4 separate regions of the Homo sapiens genome follow, and regions 1, 2 and 4 are each linked to region 3. The links are contacts of gene promoters, found by promoter capture Hi-C in blood cells and fetal thymus (Javierre and others, 2016). All regions are on one chromosome and are shown on one strand. The core of a region is centred on a gene start or on the middle of the fragment in contact, and the rest is flanking DNA. Distances in the headings are between cores, read along the strand shown. Region 1 overlaps LDLRAD4 (low density lipoprotein receptor class A domain containing 4). Region 2 overlaps ZNF519 (zinc finger protein 519). Region 3 holds the start of MC5R (melanocortin 5 receptor). Region 4 has its middle 45 kb from the start of ZNF519.

Region 1 (2,758 bases), core at 122-2,621, 270 kb after region 3:
GCTTGGATAAACACACAAGTTGTGTGACATGAAGATAAATTTGGCAATGGTTGCTTAGAAACTGACAACAGTGCAATCAATAGGCAGTTTCCCAGAGCGCCCTACTCCAACACCTTTTAAAGTGCCAATCAAAGTTTGCAAAACCATTCATTATATTTCAATATGTGGAATTTTTTTGTACCTTGAAAAAATGATTAGATTTTGTTCCTGTTTAACAACTTACTTCTAATTCAAATTCAAAGTGAAAATAATGAGATTGGGCATCAAGAATTTGGACATACTGGTGTCTGGTATCGAGGTTCTTCAGCTACTCAATGCACGTGATGATGGTGATGATCATGATGGTAACAACAGACAATAACACATATATTACAATGCCACATACTAAGTGTTTTACAATTCTTAGCTCACTTCTTAACAATTTCTCGTCTCCCTATAAAAAGCTTTGTCTAGGCCGGCTGTGGTGGCTCACGCCTGTAATCACAGTACTTTGGGAGGCCAAGGTAGGCAGATCATGAGGTCAGGAGATCGAGACCATTCTGGCTAACACGGTGAAACCCCATCTCTACTAAAAATATAAAAAATTAGCCGGGTGTGGTAGCGCATGCCTGTAGTCCCAGCTACTTGGGAGGCTGAGGCAGGAGAATGGCGTGAACCTGGGAGGCGGAGCTTGCAGTGAGCCAAGACCGCATCACTGCGCCCCAGCTTGGGCGAAAGAGCGAGACTCAATCTCAAAAAAAAAAGGCTTTGTCTAAAGAAACCATCCTTAGGCACTAGTGTTTGAGAAGGTCAAGTTTAGGTTAGGATCATGTTCAAAGTGAAGACAAAGTCTAGTTTTTTGCTTATTTTCTTTTGAGACAGGATCTCACTCTGTCACCCAGGCTGGAGCACAGTGTTGTGATCATAGCTCACTGTAAGCTTGAACTCCTGGGCTCAAGTGATCCTCCTGGCTCAGCCTCCTGGGCAGCTAGGACTATGGGCATGTGCCATGATGCCTGACTAATTTTTTTTTTTTAATTTTGTAAAGATAGGGTTTGCGGTGTTGGCTAGGCTGGTCTCAAACTCCTGGGCTCAAGTGATCCTCCTGCCTTGGCATCCCAAAGTGTTGGGATTACAGGTGTGTGCCACTGAGCCTGGCCGTGCTTATTATCTCCTTAAGCCAGATGAAAGTGCTGTAACGTCCAAGCTTGGTTTTCATCACCATGCATTGCTAATATCTATTAATCACCCTTTATAAAGCATTAATCACCCTTTAAAGGGTGGTTCTCTTTAGACGGGGGAAAAGAGCAACTTGACAGTGAGGAAACCTAATACACCTCAGTCAGGTGATCAAGGTCACCATCAGCAGTTATAAATCACGTTTAAACTACATACCCTTGATATGATGCACAAGGACAAGGACAACCAGTGACAACCACTCCCCATCATGGCCTTTTCCAAACATATTCCCGTGTATCCCATTAGCAAGTCTTTGTTTACCCATGGACACTCCCTTTCCCTCAAATACATCATCCTCAAAAGACCAGGCTTAAGTACTCCCTGTTCTGTGAAGCTTTCCTTGTTCTCTAAGGCAGAAGTTATTTCTCTCTCCTTGGTCTATGTGGTTATTTGATCTGGGCTCATGATTTTTCTTTATAAAAGCCTCTCTGGATTCGGGCATAGCCAAGCACCAAGCCTCACTCTCCCTGTGCACCCACCTTAAACCTCACCCATGAATTTCACACAATTAAAGAGACTTAGATATACTGCAGGTAATCATGTGTCTTCACTGGATGGTAAGGCTCTTGAAAGCAGAGTTTATAGCAATCCAATTTCTGTCAACTCAGAAGTACTTGTTCCAGCAAGGCCCTAGGGCCTCCTGATAACATGTAGAAATGACAATGACCAGTCACAAGAAGGTAAGCTCTGTTCACCAAAAAAAGTTCCCCACTCTCCTAGAAACAACAATGCAATAGACTCAGAAATTCCAAGTACTTAATACATAGCTTAACTGAAATCAAGTTTCCAGACACGATGAACTCTAGAAAATAACATACACTGAAGCTGTAGAAGATGAGTTTTATTTATCCAATTTATGAGTTCACAAATCATAAATCTCAGTGACTCCGAGTAGTTTGGGCAGGAATGCATTCCAAAACTACCATCTGGGTCATGCTAGATGGAGAATAAATCTAATGCTTACCACAGATTCACATTCTCTCTATAATAAGCTGCAAGGAAGACACCAATGAAGCTATTAAAAATAAGGTAAGAATAATTCACACAAACTGCTTTCCCGCCTTCTTAGAAAATAATACAACTCCCAAACAAGCTCTAAGTAATAATCCAAGAAGTCCCAATTATTCCTCATCTATACCTTAATTATTATATACTTTATAAACTTCTTTCCATCTGCAGTTCTGTGTCTTTGACTAATTACAGTGAGTTTCTCTGAGACACACCTGGCTTTACTTAATGAGATAGACCATGTAATTTTTCAACTCAAAAACCAACTGATCACATTGCTTTGCACCCTAGGGTAGCAACTGCTATATGCCTTATAGGGCTAAATAACAAATAATAGACACTTATAGTTTGCATTTTCTAGCCCATTTTACAATGAAAACAGTGATCTGAAAATCAACAATTTATCTAATATTGAATTCCATAGGTAAGAGAACATAAGCTCTTTAATCAAAAGTAAACCAGCTGAATCATTTCTACAAAGAGAAAAAGAAGAGTAAGAGATGAGGGGAAGGAGGGAGAAGGTAGGCTGTGA
Region 2 (2,700 bases), core at 41-2,540, 290 kb before region 3:
CTTCATTTCTTTTTCACATTGTTCACTGTTGGTATATAAAAATGCTGCTAGCTTTTTAATCCTATATCTTGACTAAATTTATGAGTTCTAATAGTGTTTTAGTGAATTAGGATTTTCCAAATATAAGAGCACATCATCTGCAAGCAAAGCTAATTTGACTTCTTCCTTTCCAATTTGGTTGCCCTTTATTTTTTTCTCTTGTCTAATTGCTCTAGCTGCCATATGTTGAAATAACAGTGGTGAAAGTGTGCATCCTTGTCATGTTCTCAATCTTAGGAAAAGCTTTTCATTTTTCCCCATTTAGTATCATATAATGTGAGTGTCATATATAGCTTTTTATATGTTGAGGTATGTTTCTTCTATAGTTTTGAGGGTTTCTGTCATGAGGGGATATTAAATTTTATCAAATGATTTTCAGGATCAAAATGATCTTGGTTTTTGTTCTTTCTTTTGTTGATATGATGTATTACATTAATTGATTTGCATATGTTGAAGTATCTTTGCATCCCTGAGATAAATCCTACTTGATCATGAGGTATAATAATCTTTTTAATCTGTTGCTGAATTTTACTTGCCAGTATTTTTATTAGAAATTTTACATCTATAATAATCTTTTTAATATGTTGCTGAATTTTACTTGCCAGTATTTTTATTAGAAATTTTGCATCTATTGCTGATATTGGCCTATAGATTTTTTTGATAGGCGTTTGTCTGGTTTTAGTATGAGAGTAATGCTTGCCTTACAGAACAAGGTTGGAAGTGTTTCCTCCTCCTCTGTTTTGGAATAGTTTAAGTCAGATTGCTATTAGTTTTATACATGTTTGGTCGAATTCAGTGAAGCCATCAGATTTCAGGCTTTTCTCTCATAGGAGGTTTTTTATTATGGATCTCAACATGTCTTGTTTGTCTATTCAGGTTCTGGATTTCTTAACAGTTCAATCTTGTTAGGTTCTATGTGTCTAGAAATTTATCCATTTGTTCTAGATTTTCCAATTTATGGCATCTATCTGCTCATAGCAGCCACTAATGATCTTGAATTCCTGCAGTATAAGTTGTAGAGTTGAAATGTCTCCTTTTTCATCTTTGTTATTATTTATTTGAGTCTTTTTTTCTTTTTTCTTTTCTTTCTTTCTTTTTTTTTTTTTTTCTTTTTTTTGAGTAGGAGTCTCACTCTGTCGCCCAGGCTGGGGTGCAGTGGCTTGATCTTGGCTCACTGCAACCTCCTTCTCCTGACTTCCAGCAATTCTACCTGCCTCAGCCTCCCAAGTAGGTGGGATTACAGGTGCCTGCCACCGTGCCCAGCTAATTTTTATATTTTTTAGTAGAGACGGGGTTTCGCCATGTTGGACAGGCTGGTCTTAAACTCCTGACTTCAGGTGATCCCCCTGCCTTAGCCTCCTAAAGTGCCGGGATTACAGGCATGAGCCACTGTGCCTGGCTGAGTTTTCTTTTTTTTTCTTAGTCTGGCTAAAGGTTTTTTTTTTTTTTTTTTTAGAAAACAACTTTGCATTTTATTGACCTTTTGTATTTTATTTATTTCAAATTCATTTATTTCTGCTTTGATCTTTATTATTTCTTTTCTTCTAATTTTGGCTTTGTTTGCTAGATACATCATTAGGTTTTTTCAATGGTTTTGGAAATACAGGTGGTTTTTCGTGACACAGATAAGTTCTTTAGTGTAATTTCTGAGATTTTAGTGCACCTGTCACCCGAGCAGTGTACACTGTACTTAATATGTAGCTTTTATCCCTCACCCGCCTCCCAGCCTTCCCCCTCAAGTCCCCAAAGTCTATTACATTACTCTTATGCCTTTGCATCCTCGTAGATTAGCTCTCACTTATAAGAATATACAATATCTAGTTTTCCATTTCTGAGTTACTTCACTTAGAATAATAGCCTTCAGCTCCATCCAAGTTGCTGCAAATGACATTTTATTTGTTAAGTGTTCCCATTTCACCACAACCATGCCAACATCTGTTGTTTTCTTGACTTTTGAATTATGGCTATTTTTGTAGGAGTAAGTTGGTATCTAATTGTGGTTTTCATTTGTATTTCTCTGATTAGTGATGTTGAGCATTTTTAGATTATTGTTCGGTGTTCGTATGTCTTCTTTTGACAAATATATATTCATTTTCTCTGCCTACTTTTTGATGGAATTATTATTATTTGGCTAATTTATTTGAGTTCTGTATAGATTCTGGATACTAGCTTTTTGTGCGTAGTTTGCAAATATTTTCTGCTACTCTGTGGGTTGTCTATGTACTCTGCTGATTATTTCTTTTGCTGTGCAGAAGCTTTTTAGTTTAATAAGGTCCCATTTGTTTATGTTTGTTTTTGTTGCATTTGCTTTTGGGGTCTTAGTCATGAATTTTTTGCCTAAGTCAATGTCCAGAAGAGTTTTTTTATATGTTACCTTTTAGAATTTGTATGCTTTCAGGCCTTAGATTTAAATCTTTGATCCATCTTGAATTGATTTTTGTATACGGTCAGAGATGGGGGATCCAGTTTTATTCTTCTATGTGTGGCTTGCCAGTTTTCCTAGCACCGTTTATTGAATAGGGTGTTGTTTCCTCAATTTGTTTATTTGTATGCCTTGTTGATTATTAGTTAAGATGAGTTGCCTGTATTTGGCTTAATTTCTGGATTCTCTATTATGCTTCATTGGTCTATGTGTCTATTTTAATAGCAATACCATGCTGT
Region 3 (2,700 bases), core at 185-2,684:
TTTTTTTTTTTTTTTTTTAAGAGACAGGGTCTCCCTATGTTGCCCAGTCTGGTCTCAAACTCCTGGCCACAAGCGATCTTCTCTCTCAGCCTCCCAAAGTGCTGGTACTACAGGGGTGAGCCACGTGCCCGGCAGCTGGCTTGCACATTCTGACCTGCGTTCCTGAGACCTGGAAGAGTGCCCCTGGACACGCAGATTAGAATCTTCACCAGCCTCTTCTGCTCTCCTTGCTTTCAGCTCCCAGCCTTTCACATGCATCTTACTAGAGAGACACTCACCTCCAAGTGCCCAGGACAGTTTCACTTTTTATGGCTTCTCTCCTGGGCTCAAGTTCACTATCATAAGTGTCCCCAACTCATAACCTACAAAATCCCAGCCAGTCTCCCAATGTTCACATTCCTAAGGCTACTGCACGACATTCTCCTCAAGGGAGCTCCGATTTAAGACTGCCCAGACCCGTATTCCCTTAAGACAGACAGACAGGTGCATCCCTAACACTTGTCCTGACACTTCTTAGACCCATCAGGATTCAGCCTCCACAGCTGTAAGTAAGGCTATAACCAGAATGGTCTGTTACCCTGAGCAAAGTCACATGTTAAAAGCTACTGTCTTAAGTTTGTAAGTGTAGGCTGCACATACGTGTTAAAATTGAGGAAAACAGTGCTGCTTTTCCCTCAATACCTATTTTTCCCTCGCTTCTGCATTATGTGGAATTCCATGAGGTCTGCTTGATAGTTTATTAGGTCCGCGTGAGCACAGTATTTAAAAAAAAAAACAGCAATTTAAATGTACCACACTCCTTTGTTGCAAAATTTCTCTCTTATGATTCATTTTCAAAAATCCCTTTGCCCTCCAAACTCAGATCACATCTGGAGAGAATTTCTGTCATCACTGTCATCATTAATATTTGTAATCACTTTGGGAGGGAGGGAGGGGGTGAGGGACAACAAATTACTTAATAGGTACAATGTACACTATAGGGGTGATGGCTACACTAAAAGCCCAGTCTCCACCACTATGCAATACATCCATATAACAAAACAGCACCTGTACCCCCTAAATCTATAAAAATAAAAAAGGAAAAAATTGGTAATCTAAGCATTTATTGAACTACAATCATTTGTTACAGCTGAGTTCCAGCTCAGATATATCGGTAAATTATGCAATTATACTAAACATCATATCGAGCTGTGTTAAAAACTCACGGGGCAAGCTAGCTGCCGCCCCGCTCACTTCCACATGCAGCGGAAGCGCGATTTTGCATTTATTCTCAGGATCTCAAGGAGATAGAAAGTTGTGGCTATTTACCGGTGCTCCTCCTCGCGGGCCGCGGCGCTCAGCCCGGGCCCCCGGCGTCCCCGGGATCCGACGGCCGTGCGGCGCTCAGAGCCAGCCCCGGACGGGCCTCTCCCCCAGCTAGGCGGCTGCGGCTCTGCGGGGCTTTAAGCCTCCTGCCTGCCCGCGCCGGGCCCGCCTCCGCACCGCCGGCTGTCGCTCCGGGCGGCCTCCGCTGCCACCTAGTGGCCCAGCACGGCACAGCGGCCAGAGAACCGCGTCAGCCCCGAGCGAAAATCCCCCCGAACACACTCTTGAATGGTTGGATGGTTGCTTGGTTGGTTGGTTGGTCGGTCGGGTCGGTGGGTCGGTCGGTCGGTCGGTCGGTCGGTTGAATGGTTGGTTGGGTGAGTGGTTGCTTGGTTGGGTAGTTGGTTGGTTGAGTGGGTGGGTGGGTGGTTGCTTGTTTGGTGATTGGTTGGTTGGGTGAGCAGGTGGTTGCTTGCTTGGTTGGTTGGGTGGTTACGGGTTAGTTAGTTGGGTAGGTGGGTGGTTGCCTGATTGGTTGATTGGTTGATTGGTTAGGTGAGTGGATGGTTACTTGGTTGCTTGGCTGGTTGGGTGGGGGGTTCGTTGATTGGGTAGGTGGGTGGTTCCTTGGTTGGTTGATTGGTTGGTTGGGTAGGTGGGTGGTTGCTTGGTTGGTTGATTGGTTGGTTGGGTAGGTGGGTGGTTGCTTGGTTGAGTGAGTAGATGGTTACTTGGTTGCTTGCTCGCTTGCTCGCTTGCTTGGGTGGGTGGGGGGTAGTTGGTTGGGTAGGTGGGTGGTTGCTTGGTTCGTTGATTGGTTGCTTGGGTGGGTGGGTGGTTGGTTGGGTGAGTGGATGGTTGCTTGGTTGGTTGATTGGGTAAGTGGGGGTTGGTTGGGTAGGTGGGTGGTTGCTTGGTTGGTTGGTTGGGTCAGTGGGTGGGTGGGTGGTGGGTGGTTGCTTGGTTGGTTGGTTGGGTCAGTGGGTGGGTGGGTGGGTCGTTGGGTGGGTGGTTGCTTGGTTGGTTGGTTGGGTCAGTGGGTGGGTGGATGGGTGGTTGGGAGGGTGGTTGGTTGGTTGGTTGGTTGGCTGGGTCAGTGGGTGGATGGATGGGTGGTTGGGTGAGTGGTTGCTAGGTTGGTTGGGTCAGTGGGTGGGTGGATGGGTGGTTGGGTGGGTGGTTGCTTGGTTTGGTTGGTTGGGTCAGTGGGTTGGGTGGATGGGTGGTTGTGTGGGTGGTTGGTTGGTTGGTTGGTTGGGTCGGTGGGTGGATGGATAGGTGGTTGGGTGGGGGAGTGGTTGGTTGGGTCAGTGGGTGGGTGGATGGGTGGTTGGGTGGGTAGCTGCTTGGTTGTTTTTCTGGCTGGTTGCACTTTTTGTTTCTTTTCTCTTCCTC
Region 4 (2,700 bases), core at 35-2,534, 260 kb before region 3:
GAATGAAATTTAAGGAATTTTGAACCTTATGTGGTCCTGATCTCTGTGCTTGGGTTTTAATTTTTTTCTCAACCTGTATCATATGCACTTAGCCATGAACAATAAAATATGAACAAATCACATTTTCTTGTTGCTAAGCTACAAAGAATATGATGGTAAAGTGAAATCTCTTCAGCAAGAAAACCAGACTTTCCCCTTGTTTTGTTATTGATCAGGGGAACTGACTATGGTGCAGGACTGCTTGGGTTTCGCAGTCAAGGCAGCTTTTTATATGTGATGAAGCTACTCCGAGTTTTTCTAATTCTTTACTTTGGAACAAGACTTTCTCTTCTGATTTTCCTGAAAAAAGATTCAAATGTCTTGATACTATAAACATGCTAGAGGCAAACAAGCATCCTAAGCTGTACTTTCCATTTGCTAAAACGGGATAATTGTCACATAGGTGTTAAGTAATAGCAGCCACCCATTACCCAAATGTTCCTGAAGTTTCTCTATCCTCCTGGAGTCCATAGGTTTCAATATCTCTGTAAATAGCACTGACATCTAATTGGTGATGATCTTGCTTTCTCTGAGTGTGCCAGCTCTCTCTACATAGTTCCATTCCTTGTTTTCCAGACAGAATTTTGCTACAAGGTGGGGCATGTTGTCCAGTGTACTCACATCCATAATCTGTTCACACAATGCATGGTCAATCTCACCTCCCAGATCCTTTTTGTCCATTTTTACTTTAATGTACAAAATATAATGATGGTGATGACAATGATGGTATTGTTGACCTATATGATAATGACAAACCAAGCTATGCTCTTTTTATGTTTTCAAATGTAAGCACATCAGTAAGTGATGTACATAAATGATACGATTTAAACATCCAACACAAGGACGCACACATTTTTTATGATCATGTTGCAAATGAGAAAACAAATGACCCATCCCTTTCTTCTCCTTTAATCATGGCAACATCAGTAGCTCCTAAGAGTTTTATTTGAGGAAGTTCTGCCTGTGTTATCTGGCTGATATTGAAGACTTGGGATTTTGTCACCCAAGTCCCATAAACAGTGGGTTACAGTTCAGGTAAGATGGAATGAAGCATGGTTTTTAGAGTGTACACTGATAGGAGCTCACTTTTATAAAATTTTCACATTCACCAAAATATATTTTCTAATAAAAATAATATATTAACACAAAAGTAGCTATGCAGCTGTGCCTTTTATTTCTTTTTCTTACCTGATTGGTCTGGCTAGGACTTTCAGTACTACATTGAATAAAAATGGTAAACATAAGCATCCTTATCTTGTGTCAGATCTTAGAGAGAAAACATCCAGCTTTTCCCATTCAGTATGATGGTTCTGTTATATATGGCCTTTATTATATTGAGGTATATTTCTTCTATACCCAATCTGTTGACAGTTTTTATCTAATGAGATGAGCGTATGGTTTTTGTCCTTCGTTCCATTAATCTGATGTATCACCTTTATTGATTTGCATATGTTGAACCATCTTTATATTTCTGGGATGAATTCTACTTGATCTTGGTGAATAATCTTCACGATGTGCAATGGGATTTAGTTGGCTAGTATTTTGTGAGGATTTTTGCATCTATATTCTTCAGGGAAATAGTCCTGTAATTTTGTTGTTGTTGTTATGTCCTTGTCTGATTTGATATCTTTTCAAAAAGCCTGTCTTTGAGCTCATTGATTCTTTTTTCTGTTTGATTGATTGATTCTGCTGGTATTTTTTATTTGGTTCATTACATTTTTCAACTGTGGTCACTGCTGCTTTTTTAGCATTAGAGGGCGCTCTAAGCCTGGATTTGCCACATATCCAAAGTTGCTTTGTCGTTCTGGCCTGGAAGGACTAGAGCGGGGCTTACAGAGTGTATTTCATCCCACTGGGTTTGCACGTTTCTGCCTGGGGCCGGAACAGCTCCAGGGGTTCTGTTTACGGTCCCCAGGTTGGGGTCAAGCACTGCAGGGCTGTGCCCAGGGCTGGATCTCTGTAGTGAGCTCAGCACTGGGCTGCAAGGCCACATGTGCCTGCTTTCCTTTGCTTCCCTGAAGCAGTCTCCATGCTGTGCTGCTTGTAGTGGGGCATGGATGAGACAGGGAGTCCTGTGGCCACCACAGCTGCTATGATGCTACATCATGCCCAAAGCCACTGAGGCCAGCGCAGCGCAGGGGGATCCTCAAGTTCCACGGCTACAGCTTTCCGGCCCCTGAGATTTATTCATGGCTCTAGGCTGCTGCAGAGAGTCAGTGGTGATGTGGGCTGGGACATGAGACTGTGCCACCAGGGCTGCTGGTCTCCACCTGGCACTGTGACAAGTCCAGTGGCTCTGTCCACAGGGACCAGCCTGGGTCAGGGGCCACTGAGTCTTCCCCAGTGTTGGGTTTCACGATGGTATGCCAGCACTGCATTGCCAGGCAAAGCCCTGTGCTTAGTTTCTTTCCTTTCCTTCCCTCCAGTGGGTGGAGTCACTCTTTGCACTGTGCTGCCCAGGGTTTAGAGAGGGATGGTGAGGGCAGTCCCTTGGCCACCAAGACTCATGCTTAGCTGGATCGGGCCAAAGCCAATGGAAACTGGGGCCAGCACAACCCTGGAGTGTGTCCCAGGCCCATGCTGATACGCCCTGACTACTGCTGAGGTTTGCTCGTGGCCTGATGCCACTATCGAAGGCCAGAGGTGGTGCAGGTCAGAACA

What was found. The method cuts DNA at HindIII sites, captures the fragments that hold promoters and counts their contacts. A CHiCAGO score of 5 or more calls a contact.
Region 1: a fragment that was not itself captured here is called in contact with the fragment with the promoter of MC5R in region 3 in 3 of 17 cell types (endothelial precursors, erythroblasts and naive B cells); the score reaches 6.4 in endothelial precursors.
Region 2: a fragment that was not itself captured here is called in contact with the fragment with the promoter of MC5R in region 3 in 2 of 17 cell types (endothelial precursors and erythroblasts); the score reaches 6.1 in endothelial precursors.
Region 4: a fragment that was not itself captured here is called in contact with the fragment with the promoter of MC5R in region 3 in 6 of 17 cell types (erythroblasts, M0 macrophages, M2 macrophages and 3 more); the score reaches 14.9 in erythroblasts.

The regions. Positions count from the first base shown.
Region 1 is chr18:13,555,394-13,558,151 of GRCh38, reverse strand. The region is part of intron 4 of LDLRAD4 (low density lipoprotein receptor class A domain containing 4); the gene reads right to left. Among named protein-coding and RNA genes, the nearest start is that of MIR4526, 54 kb to the left of the region's middle. The HindIII fragment of the contact is 366 bases long and covers 1,189-1,554 here.
Region 2 is chr18:14,109,963-14,112,662 of GRCh38, reverse strand. All of the region lies in intron 2 of ZNF519 (zinc finger protein 519), which reads left to right. Among named protein-coding and RNA genes, the nearest start is that of ZNF519, 21 kb to the left of the region's middle. The HindIII fragment of the contact is 2,012 bases long and covers 285-2,296 here.
Region 3 is chr18:13,822,883-13,825,582 of GRCh38, reverse strand. MC5R (melanocortin 5 receptor) reads right to left here and starts at 1,434. Exons shown (of 2, transcript NM_005913.3): 1 at 1,309-1,434. RefSeq lists silencers at 1,230-1,319, 1,330-1,619, 1,585-1,765. The HindIII fragment of the contact is 16,860 bases long and covers 1-2,700 here.
Region 4 is chr18:14,085,874-14,088,573 of GRCh38, reverse strand. It overlaps a transcript of ZNF519 not described here. Among named protein-coding and RNA genes, the nearest start is that of ZNF519, 45 kb to the left of the region's middle. The HindIII fragment of the contact is 9,090 bases long and covers 1-2,700 here.